Regions from separate parts of the Homo sapiens genome. Here region 1 is linked to region 2. The links are contacts of gene promoters, found by promoter capture Hi-C in blood cells and fetal thymus (Javierre and others, 2016). All regions are on one chromosome and are shown on one strand. The core of a region is centred on a gene start or on the middle of the fragment in contact, and the rest is flanking DNA. Distances in the headings are between cores, read along the strand shown.

Evidence for each region. Contacts are between HindIII fragments. The CHiCAGO score rates a contact against its expected background, and 5 or more counts as called.
Region 1: a fragment that was not itself captured here is called in contact with the fragment with the promoter of PCDHA4 in region 2 in 1 of 17 cell types (erythroblasts); the score reaches 5.0 in erythroblasts.

Annotation. Positions count from the first base shown.
Region 1 is chr5:141,462,764-141,468,119 of GRCh38, reverse strand. All of the region lies in intron 1 of PCDHGA1 (protocadherin gamma subfamily A, 1), which reads right to left. The region is part of intron 1 of PCDHGA2 (protocadherin gamma subfamily A, 2); the gene reads right to left. The region is part of intron 1 of PCDHGA3 (protocadherin gamma subfamily A, 3); the gene reads right to left. All of the region lies in intron 1 of PCDHGB1 (protocadherin gamma subfamily B, 1), which reads right to left. It also overlaps PCDHGA4, PCDHGB2, PCDHGA5, PCDHGB3, PCDHGA6 and PCDHGA7, and 10 more genes. Among named protein-coding and RNA genes, the nearest start is that of PCDHGC3, 11 kb to the left of the region's middle. The HindIII fragment of the contact is 1,131 bases long and covers 1,438-2,568 here.
Region 2 is chr5:140,805,530-140,810,942 of GRCh38, reverse strand. PCDHA4 (protocadherin alpha 4) reads right to left here and starts at 3,875. Exons shown (of 4, transcript NM_018907.4): 1 at 1,371-3,875. The coding sequence starts at 3,755. All of the region lies in intron 1 of PCDHA1 (protocadherin alpha 1), which reads right to left. All of the region lies in intron 1 of PCDHA2 (protocadherin alpha 2), which reads right to left. The region is part of intron 1 of PCDHA3 (protocadherin alpha 3); the gene reads right to left. It also overlaps PCDHA@. The HindIII fragment of the contact is 11,768 bases long and covers 1-4,634 here.

The DNA of each region.
Region 1 (5,356 bases), core at 754-3,253, 660 kb before region 2:
CTCCTAACCTCAGGTGATCTGCCTGCCTCAACCTCCCAAAGTGCTGGGATTACAGGTGTGAGCCACTGTGCCCGGCTTAGTTTTCTAAATGAAGTATTTTACTTCAACATATAACAGAGGAAGAAAGAATTGTGGTTTTCTGATCATTAAAATTTTCTGGCAGCCGGGTGTGGTGGCTCATGCTTGTAATCCTAGCATTTTGGGAGGCTGAGGTGGGCGGATTTCTTGAGCTCAGGAGTTTGAGACCAGCCTGGGCAACATGGTGAAATCTCATTCTACAAAAAAATATAAAAATCAGCCTGGTGTGGTGGCATGTGCCTGTAGTCCCAGCTACTTGAGAGGCTGAGGTGCGGGCACTTGAGCATGTGAGGCGGAGGTTGCAGCGAGCTGGGATTGTGCCACTACACTCCAGCCTGGGCAACAGAGCCAGACCCTGTCTAAAAAAAATAAAAATCTTCTGGCACTATAGAAGTTTGGTACATGATAAAGATGCTATCTCAAATCACTGGGACAAAGATGAAGTGCTTAATAAATGGCATTGGGACAACTGGATAGCCATTTGGGAAAAAAGATATAATCAGATCCATATCTCAGCACACAAAAGAATAAACTCCAATTAGATCAGGGATCTAAATGTGGAAACCAAAAACCATGCAAGTACTAGCACTGGAAGAAAAAAGTAATGAATGTTTCTATAACCTAGGTGTGGGGAAAGGCTTTCTAACTATGACTTAAAACCTAAATGCAATATAAGAAAACGTTGATTTGGCCGGGGGCAGTGGCTTACGTCTCTAATCCCAGCACTGTGGGAGGCCGAGGTGAGTGGATCACTTGAGGTCAAGAGTTCGAGACCAGCCTGGCCAACATGGTGAAACCCCATCTCTACTAAAAATACAAAAATTAGCCAGGCATGGTGGCATGTGCCTGTAATCCCAGCTACTTGGGAGGCTGAGAGATGAGAATCACTTGAACCTGGGAGGCAGAGGTTGCAGTGAGCTGAGATTGCACCATTGTACTCCAGCCTGTGTGACAGAGTGAGACTTGGTCTAAAAAAAAAAAAAAAAGAAAACATTGATTCATTACACAAAAAACAAAAACAAAGGGAAAAAAATTGCATTGCAAAAAAATGCCAAAAGGTAAATGATGAGCTGTGAGAAAATATTTGCAGTCTGTTTACTGGACAAAGGACTAATATTCCTAATACAAGGAGTTTTCAAAAACTTCATGGAAAATGCATATTATGAAAAAAATGTGTGGATTTCAAAATATTTCTTGCACCAAAATAAACCCATACTAACTTGTTATACCATGTCTGAATAGGATCTAGTTTGAGGCACTAAGAAGAATAAGATAACAGTTTGAAAAGAGCCCCTATCAGAGTAACATGAATTCTGCTAAAATGGAAACAAGAACAGACATCAAATTTATGATGAAGCTTGAGTGGAAGAACGGTGAAATCACTGATGTTTTGTGAAAAGTTTATGGAGACAATGCTCCAAAGAAAACGGCAGTTTACAAGTAGCTAGCTTGTTTTAAGAAGGGATGAGACAATGTTGAAGATGAAGCCCACAGCAAAAGACCATCTACATCAATTTGGGAGGAAAAAAAATGATCTTGTCTGTGCTCTAATTAAAGAAGACCTACAATTAACAGCAGAAACAATAGCCAACACCATAGACATCTCGGTTCAGCTTACACAATTCTGACTGAAAAATTAAAGTTGAGCAAACTTTCCATTAGATGGGTGCCAAAACCATTACATCTAGATTAGCTGCAAAAAAATTATCCAGGCATGGTAGCATGTGCCTGTAGTCCCAGCTACTTGGGAGCCTGAGGTGGGAAGATTGCTTGAGCTCACGAGGCCAAGGCTGCATTGAGCCATGATGGTGCCACTGCACTCCAGCCTGGGTAACAGAGCAAGGCTGTGTCTGAAAAAAAATAAAAATAAAATAGATCAGCTGCAGTTTAAGACCAGAGTTTTCACTTGATTTTTTTTTTGAGCTGGAGTCTCACTCTGTTGCCCAGGCTGGAGTGCAGTGGCATGATATCAGCTCACTGCAAGCTCCGTCTCCTGGGTTCATGCCGTTCTCCTGCCTCACCCTCCCGAGTAGCTGGGACTACAGGTGCCTGCCACCATGCCCGGCTAATTTTTTGTATTTTTAGTAGAGATGGGGTTTCACCATGTTAGCCAGGATGGACTCGAAATCCTGACCTCGTGATTTGCCCGCCTCGGCCTCCCAAAGTGCTGGGATTACAGGCATGAGCCACTGGGCCCAGCCTCAGTTGAAATTTTAAACAAATGTGATCAAGATCCTGAAGGGTTTCTTAAAAAAAAAAAAACTGTAACAAGAGATGAAACATGACTTTACCAGTCTGATCCTGAAAACAAAGCACAAGAGGTGGAAGTGGTGGCATTTGACCAATGCAAAAGCAGACTGGTCAAGAGCAAATGTCATGGCAAGCGCTTTTTTGGGATGTTCAAAGCATTTTGCTGGTTGACTTCCTGGAGGGCCAAAGAGTGATAAGATCTGATTATTATGAGAGTGTTTTGAGAAAGTTACCAAAGCTTCAGCAGAAAAAATGCCTGGGAAAACTTCCCCAGAATCCTTCCTGACCACGACAATGCTCCCGCTCATTCCTCTCATGAAGCAAGGGCAATTTGGTGAGAGTTTTCTTGGGTAATCATTAAGTGCCCACCTTTCAGTGCTGATTTGGCTTCTTCTGACTTGTTTTTGTTCCTAATCTTACAACTTTAAAGGGCACCCATTTTTTCTTCAGTAACCAATATAAAAAATACTGCATTGACATGGCTAAATTCCCAGGACTCTCAGTTCTTTAGGGGTGAACTAAATGGCTAGTATCATTGCTTACAAAAGTGCCTTGAACTTGATGGAGCTCATGTTGAAAAATAAAGCTTATATTTTTATTTTTATCTTTTAATTAAATTTCTTCATAAACATTTAGAGTCCCTTCATATATCCCCTAAACTTTTTACAAATTTAGGCTAAAACACTTAAAAAAAAAACTACTAGAAAAATGAAAATAAGACATGAACAGACAATTCAAAAAAATATATAGGGTCATTTGTGGTGGTTCATGGCTGTAATCTTAGCACTTTGGGAGGCTGAGGTGGGAGGATCACTTGAAGCCAGTAGTTCAAGACAAGCCTGGGCAACATAGTGAGACCTCACATCTCTACAAAAAAATAAAAAAATTAGCTGGACATGGTGGCATCCATCTGTAGTCCTAGCTACTTGGGAGGCTAAGGTAGGAGGATTGCTTGAGCCCAGGAGTGCGAGGCTACAGTGAGCTATGACTGCATCACTGCAATTTGGCCTGGGCAACAGAACAAGATTCCTGTCTCTAAAAAAACAAAAAGATATAAACTGGCTTTTAAACATATGAAAAACTATTTAACCTCATTCATAATAAGAGAAATTTTAATTAAAATTATTTGGAGATATCTTTTTACCCATCAGGTTGGCAACAATTAAAAAGCTTGACAATATACTCTGCAAAGGAGACTATGGGACAATGGACATTCTCATCTATTTGTAGGAATGCAAGATGGGGAATAGCTATATTTAACAAAACTACATATGCCTTTACCTTATGATGCAGCAATCACACTATTAGGAATTTATTATACGTACATACTTCAAAAATAACAACAACAACAACAAACATATATATCTATATATATAGATATATATATATCTCAGGTTCTTCATTAGCATTTTTTATATTGCAAAAATATTGGATGGAAACTACCTAAATGACAAGTCATAGATGGGTTGAACAGATAATGATATGTGCACATACAATGGAGTTTTTTTTTTTGCTTTTTTTTTTTTTTAGACGGAGTCTCGCTCTGTAGCCCAGGCTGGAGTGCAGTGGCGCAATCTCAGCTCACTGCAATCTCCGCCTCCTGAAATCAAGCAATTCTCCTGCCTCAGCCTTCCAAGTAGCTGGGACTACAGGCGCCCACCACCACACCCAGCTAATTTTTGTATTTTTAGTAGAGACGGAGTTTCACCATGTTGGCCAGGCTGGCCTTGAACTCCTGACCTCAGGTGATCCACCCGCCTTGGCCTCCCAAAGTGTGGGATTACAAGCATGAGCCACTGCACCTGGTTTTTACAATGGAGTTTTATGAAGCTATTTTAAAAATGAAGATTTCTATAAATTTATATAGAATGATTTCCAGGATATATTATTAGTACAAAAAGCAAGGTGAAAACTTTTCCTTTCAGTCATGTGAAACCAGATATACCACTATAACAACTGGGAAGTGGATCAAAATGTGTGATAAAAGCTTTTAGACATTTGTTCAAAAGACAGTGCAGGATTCTAACCCATAAGAGAAGAGAAGCAGGCCGGGCGCGGTGGCTCATGCCTGTAATCCCAGCACTTTTGGAGGCCGAGGTGAGCAGATCACGAGGTCATCCAGACCATCCTGGCTAACACGGTGAAACCCCGTCTCTACTAAACAAAATACAAAAAATTAGCCGGGCATGGTGGCAGGCACCTGTAGTCCCAGCTACTCGGGAGGCTGAGGCAGGAGAATGGCATGAACCCGGGAGCCGGAGTTTCTAGTAAGCCGAGATCACGCCACGTCACTCCAGCCTGGGTGACAGAGCGAGACTCCATCTCAAAAAAAAAAAAAAAAAAAAAAAAAAAAGGAGAAGGAAATGAGGATCCGCAAACTAGGATCTCCATTTTTTTTGCCTGGAGACAACTTTCAGACTGTGGGGCAGGAAAGGGGAAATCCAAGAATAACACCATGGTTTTGCTGAGTTGAGGAATAGATATTAGAGTTTGGGGAGATTAGGAGATTGAGGCAGCCAGAATTTATGGGATAGAGTACTAAAGAGAATGGAGCTACACAAAGAACTCCAGGAATATTAATATGGATCCCCAAGTCTTTGGCTAAATAATAATCTGAGCATACATAGAGTGCACTGACACTTTTCTGCAGCTGGGCGAAGAACTGCCAGGGAGCTATTAGCTGAATTCTTGATGGTCACATAGGGCTGGAAAATGTTTGAATTTCATTTAGCCATAATAAAGAGACCCTGCTGAACACTCAGATTAATCAAAAAAGTCAGAATTAAGTGGTAGGTCTAAATTAGCCCAAGGCAAAAGTTACTACAGACCTGTCCTAACAAAGCTTAAAAACAAGCCTTGAAAAGATCAACCTGATCTGCAAAAAACATAATAGCCTTCCAAAACAAACTGCAATAGTTCTTAAAGAAAGACAAAATCCAAACACTCAAAAATATAACATTTACAATGTCTGCTGTCCAATAAAAACATTATTAGACATGCAAATAAGCAACAAATTATGACCCCAAGC
Region 2 (5,413 bases), core at 2,626-5,125:
GATTGTAGATGTAATGTAAACAATGAAATAAAAGATACCACAGAAAATTATCTTTGTGAAATAGGATCAGAAGCAAAAATTGATAAATTGAGTTTAATCAAAATTATGACTTTCTATTCACCAAAAGACAAAAAAGAATTAAAAACTAGCCATGAGGTTGAAAACTACTAAAAAAAGGAGTTATGTTCAGAATACAAGATTTGTTTAAGTAATAAGAAAAACAAGATAAGGAAATAAATAAAGTTCTATGGAAGCAAAAAGAAGAGAAAAAAGAAAAGAAAAACAACAGACTAGAGAAATAGGAGATTTGAGCAGCTATTGCACAAAATAAGGTATAAAAATTGCCAAAATAAAATAGAAAGGTACTCAACTTCATTTAAATATAAAATAATTTCAAAATGAGATTACAAAAGTCACCCAGTAAAATGGCTAACATGAAAATAACCTGACAAATGTAGAGATGATGTGGCCCAGCAGAAAGCCTTATGCACTACTAGGAATGTAAACAGGTAAAAACATCTTGGAAAATTGGTTGGTGTTAGCTACAAAAGACAAAGATACACACATATTCTGTGACCCACAAACACAACTCTTAGGCAAAAACCTGAGAGAAATCTGTGTACATGGGCATCAAAGAAATGTACAATATATTTATGATGGCATTATTTGAAATAGACATTGAGGCACAATGCAAATTCCTGAACAGTAGAATAAATAAGGTATAGTATATTTATGAAATAGTACTAGAAACAGAAATAAATAAACTACAACTACATATAACAACATGGATAATTTCATAAACAATGAGTGATAAATACAAATAACACACAAATGCACAGACAATACATGTTGTGCAAGTCCAATTAGATAACGTTCCCAAAACAGGCCCCGAACAAACAGTTATAAAAGGCAAATGTGCGGTTACACTGGAGGAAAAATAAGGGAAGTGATTTGGCAGGTGCATGCGAGGGGCTTCAGCGATGGAGGCAACGGAGCTTTTCACTTTCATACAATTTATGGAGCTTTATTATTTCAGCCTGTGCACATTTGTTTATATGTAATAGGTTAAATAATAGTAAAATGTTTTCTAAAATGTTGATTATTACCAAAAACAAAGAGGGTGAATATAGTGAAAATTTACTAGAAATTACAGTTCTGTTAATATGCATTGAATAATGCAGCATAAAATGAAGGAAGGCAATATATATTGCTCTGATGTCCTATAATTCCAAAAGACTTTAGTTAAAATGGATATGTAAAAAGAGGTAAAATTTTAACCCAGGGAAATTTGACTCTTAGAAATAAATTTACGAAGAAGTTGATAGAGAAAAACAATACGAAAATTAAACAAAAGGATGTTATACACTAACCTTTGCAAAGGATTCCTCAGTTGTCTGCAGCTGATCTTCTCTGTCCCTAGAGTCAGGTAAACTGGGGCTGAAGGCCATGAGGTCGGTCTTGGGTGGGCCCTCACCAGAGCACACCCTCGGCCTCCTCTGCTGCGAGTATGACCAGCTCCCCACCGCACTGGAGCACACCAGCGTGGGCTTGCCCGGAGCGCACGCGCCCTCGGTGGGCAGCGCAGAGCACCGCAGCGCGGTGTACAGCAGCAGCGTGAGCACCAAAAGGCTGGACACCGCGCAGATGGCAATGATCAGGTATACGTTGACATCCACCAGCGCAGCATCGGGACCCACAGCGCCCACCAACGCCCGTGAGGAGGCCTTTGGCGCCTGTCCACTCTCCACAAGTGACACCAGCACAGTGGCCGTGGCCGTCAGCGCGGGCTCGCCGTGGTCCTTCACCAGTACCAGTAGGCGGTGGCGCGGAGCGTCCGTTTCGTCCAGGGCACGCGTTGTGCTGATCTCGCCAGTGTACAGCCCCACGCGGAACGGGATGCGCGCGCCACCAGTCCCCGGCTGCAGCTCGTACGAAAGCCACGCGTTGTAGCCCGAGTCAGCATCCACCGCGCGCACCTTTGCCACCACGTGGCCCACACCCACCGACCATGGCACCAGCTCGCTCACTGCGCCACCAGTGCCACCCGCCCGAGGCGCTAGCAGTGCTGGCGCGTTGTCGTTTTCGTCCAGCACGAACACCTGCAGCGTCACGTTGCTGCCCAGAGGTGGCACGCCGGCATCGCGAGCGGTCACCTGAAACTGCAGCAGCTCTAGCTCCTCGTGGTCCAGCGGCTGCAGCGCGTACACCTTGCCGCTCTCCGCATGCACCGAAACGTAGCTCGACAGCGCGCGCTCCCCTACCCGCCGCTCTACCAGCGAGTAGGACACCAGCGCGTTCTCCTGCGCGTCCGCGTCCCACGCAGACACAGTGAAGATGTGGCAGCCCGGCGGGTTGTTCTCCTTCACGAACACTGTGTACTCGGGCTGCGCGAACGCCGGAGCGTTGTCGTTCACATCAGCCACCTCCACAGAAACACTGGCCGTGGCCCACAGCGAAGGCGAGCCCCCGTCTCGCGCGGTCACCACCAGCTCATAGGCTGACACGCTCTCGCGGTCCAGGGCACTGTCCAGCACCAACGAGTAGTAATTCTTGAAGGTGGACACCAGCTTGAAGGGGACGTGGGACGTCAAGGAGCAGGTGACCAGCCCATTGACACCCATGTCTTTGTCGGACACGCTGATCAGGGCGATGACTGTACCCAGTGGAGCGTCCTCTCTAATTGGAAGTGATAAAGACTTGAATTCCAAATCTGGGACATTATCGTTGTTGTCTTCTACTTCCACAATAACTCTACAATGGCCAGAAAGTGGGAGCTGTCCCTTATCAATGCCCTCTACAATAATTTCATAGGATTTGCTTTCTTCAAAGTCAATATATCCCTTTACAATAATTTGTCCAGTAATTGGATCTATGTGAAACTTGGATTTCACATTTGGCGAAATATCATTTGAGAATGAATAAACAATGTCCCCATTCAATCCTTCGTCTAAATCTGAGGCGTTAAGTTTAATTACCAATGTTCCATTAGGAACATTTTCTAGTAATCTCACCTTATAAATGGTTCTGTCAAAAGCTGGGGCATTGTCATTGGCATCCAGTACTGTGATGAGTAACTGAACGGTGCCAGTCAACTCGGGTTTGCCTCCATCAGTGGCTGTGAGCACTAAAAAAATCTCCGGAGCTTCTTCTCTGTCTAAAGATTTCCGTAATATAAGCCCAAGACCTTTTACCAGCTCGTCATCAGGTGGTTTTTCCAGAGAAAAGTATTCATTTGGGCTCAGTCTGTAAGTGAGCAGGGCGTTCTCCCCGATATCTGCATCCGAGGCGCCCTCTAGTGGAAACCGAGAGTCAAGCGGCCTGGATTCCGCGATGGACAGGTTCTTTTGTGTTGCTGGGAACACCGGCGGGTTATCGTTAATGTCCCTCACCTCCACGTCCACATGGAAAACCTGCAGCGGCCTGTCTACGATCACCTCCAGGTGGATGCTGCACTCCGCGCTCCGCCGGCACAGCTCCTCCCGGTCGATCCGAGAATTCACAAACAAAATGCCATTCTGCAGATTTACCTCCAGAAGGCCTCCGCGGCCCTTGGACGCCACCCGGAACAGGCGCGGCACCAGCTCCGCCAGCTCCAGTCCCAGGTCCTGCGCGATGCGGCCCACGAAGGTGCCGTGTTTGGCCTCCTCGGAGACCGAGTAGTGGAGCTGACCGTTCCCTGCCTCCCAGGCTGCGAGGAGAAGAAGTAAGAGCAGCAGACGCCGGGATTCCTGGCCGCTTCCCCAGGAAAACTCCATCTTTAGTGCACAGTATTTTGTTCTGATTAAATATCGTTTCTCAAAGTCAAGGGAAATCTTTTAATCGGTCAGTCAAGTGCAGCTGCATCCTCCATATTTCAGACTCCAAAGAGTGTATATGGTTCCTTCCAGTAAGAATAGAAGGAATTTTCCCTTCTTCCTCCTTCTCTCATGTATTTTGTGGTAAAGAGCGACATCATGTGGCTCCAAACCGTAAGTAGCAATTGTGGAAACCCCCACACACTCTACTGTAAACTACTTGGTTTTATTTATTATTTCAGTCGTTTCGGAGAATAGGAATACATTTTGTACTACTGTGGTACACATTGTACCACTGATTGATTGAGTGTGGTCCTTAGTTTCGCCATAGGGGCAACTTTTACTTCAGTAGAAATAATTTTTTCAACACAGGTTTTAAGTATTACAGAGACCTAACTATACACTTTGTAAACATGTAACTGTAAACTGTTGATTAGAAAAATTCATTACAGATTCCTGTGTTCCCAAGAATTCCAGGGTTTTTTTTTATTAATGATAACACCCTCTTCACCCTAGTATTTCTGGTGTTGTTGACTTGAGGGGACTGGTCTCTAGGGAACTTCTGGTGCCAAGAACAAGCTATTGACAGGGAAATTTGCAGATGTTTTATAAAAGGATCAAAGACCATCAGCATTTAATTAGATGTCTTCCTTGAGTCATGTCAGGGCTGAAAGTGCAAGGAAGCAGGAAGTTATAGCAAATAGCTTGCATGGAAAAGCATTCCAAATAATTTTATTCATTGGAACTCATTTGCTCCCATGAGAAACGCTGGTATTCTCATTTTGACTCTTACAGTTTATAAGTACTTGCTTGTTCTCCAGTATGTAATGTGCCTAAGCTTCTATTTTCTCCTATAGTGCTTATATATTTTAGCCAAACTGAATATTTCCTGCTTCCAATAGCTTTTTTTAATAAACAAGCATGTTCATTTTGTCCTGTCTATAAGTAATCCACATCATTTCTAAACTCTTCTAAAGCCAATTTACCCCATTTTATAACCACTTAAAACTTCCCTGACCCATGAAGAATGTCATGATCAAACCAATTGAACAGGTATTTTTTCTTCTTTTACAAACTGCAGCACCAGGGTGGAATCGCGTGGGCCATTTATTACATTAATTTATCTCTTATAAGCATTTGAGTATGTGTGTCCTTTTTTGGAATATATATTTTAAAGGGAATAGTTGTATCTTAATTGTTTAATAGCTCAGAGGGACTTACCTAATATTTCCTAAATATTTACCCTGCAGAAAATGTTTGCTTCCTTCCATTGCCTAATAAAATGCATTAATTTAAGGTGATCGCATATCTAGTTGGGAAAATGTGGTGTTTCAATAGCCTCTATGATTTTCTAAAGATACAAAAAAAGTCTCTAGACATTTCCCCAATTAAGATGTATTTCAAGTTCAATGTTGAAAACTTGGGTTTTAGCTTAATTTTTATTCTAATTCTTGGTAATCATGATCTTTGAATCATCCTGGGTATTAATGGGGAATGAAGACTTCCCAATAAATAAACCACAATACATTTTCTTACATAAAGAAATTTAATATATAAAGACATAATGGTAGCCATTTAAAAACTTTCCTTGCCTCCTATATCCATAAAGTTATTTTCAT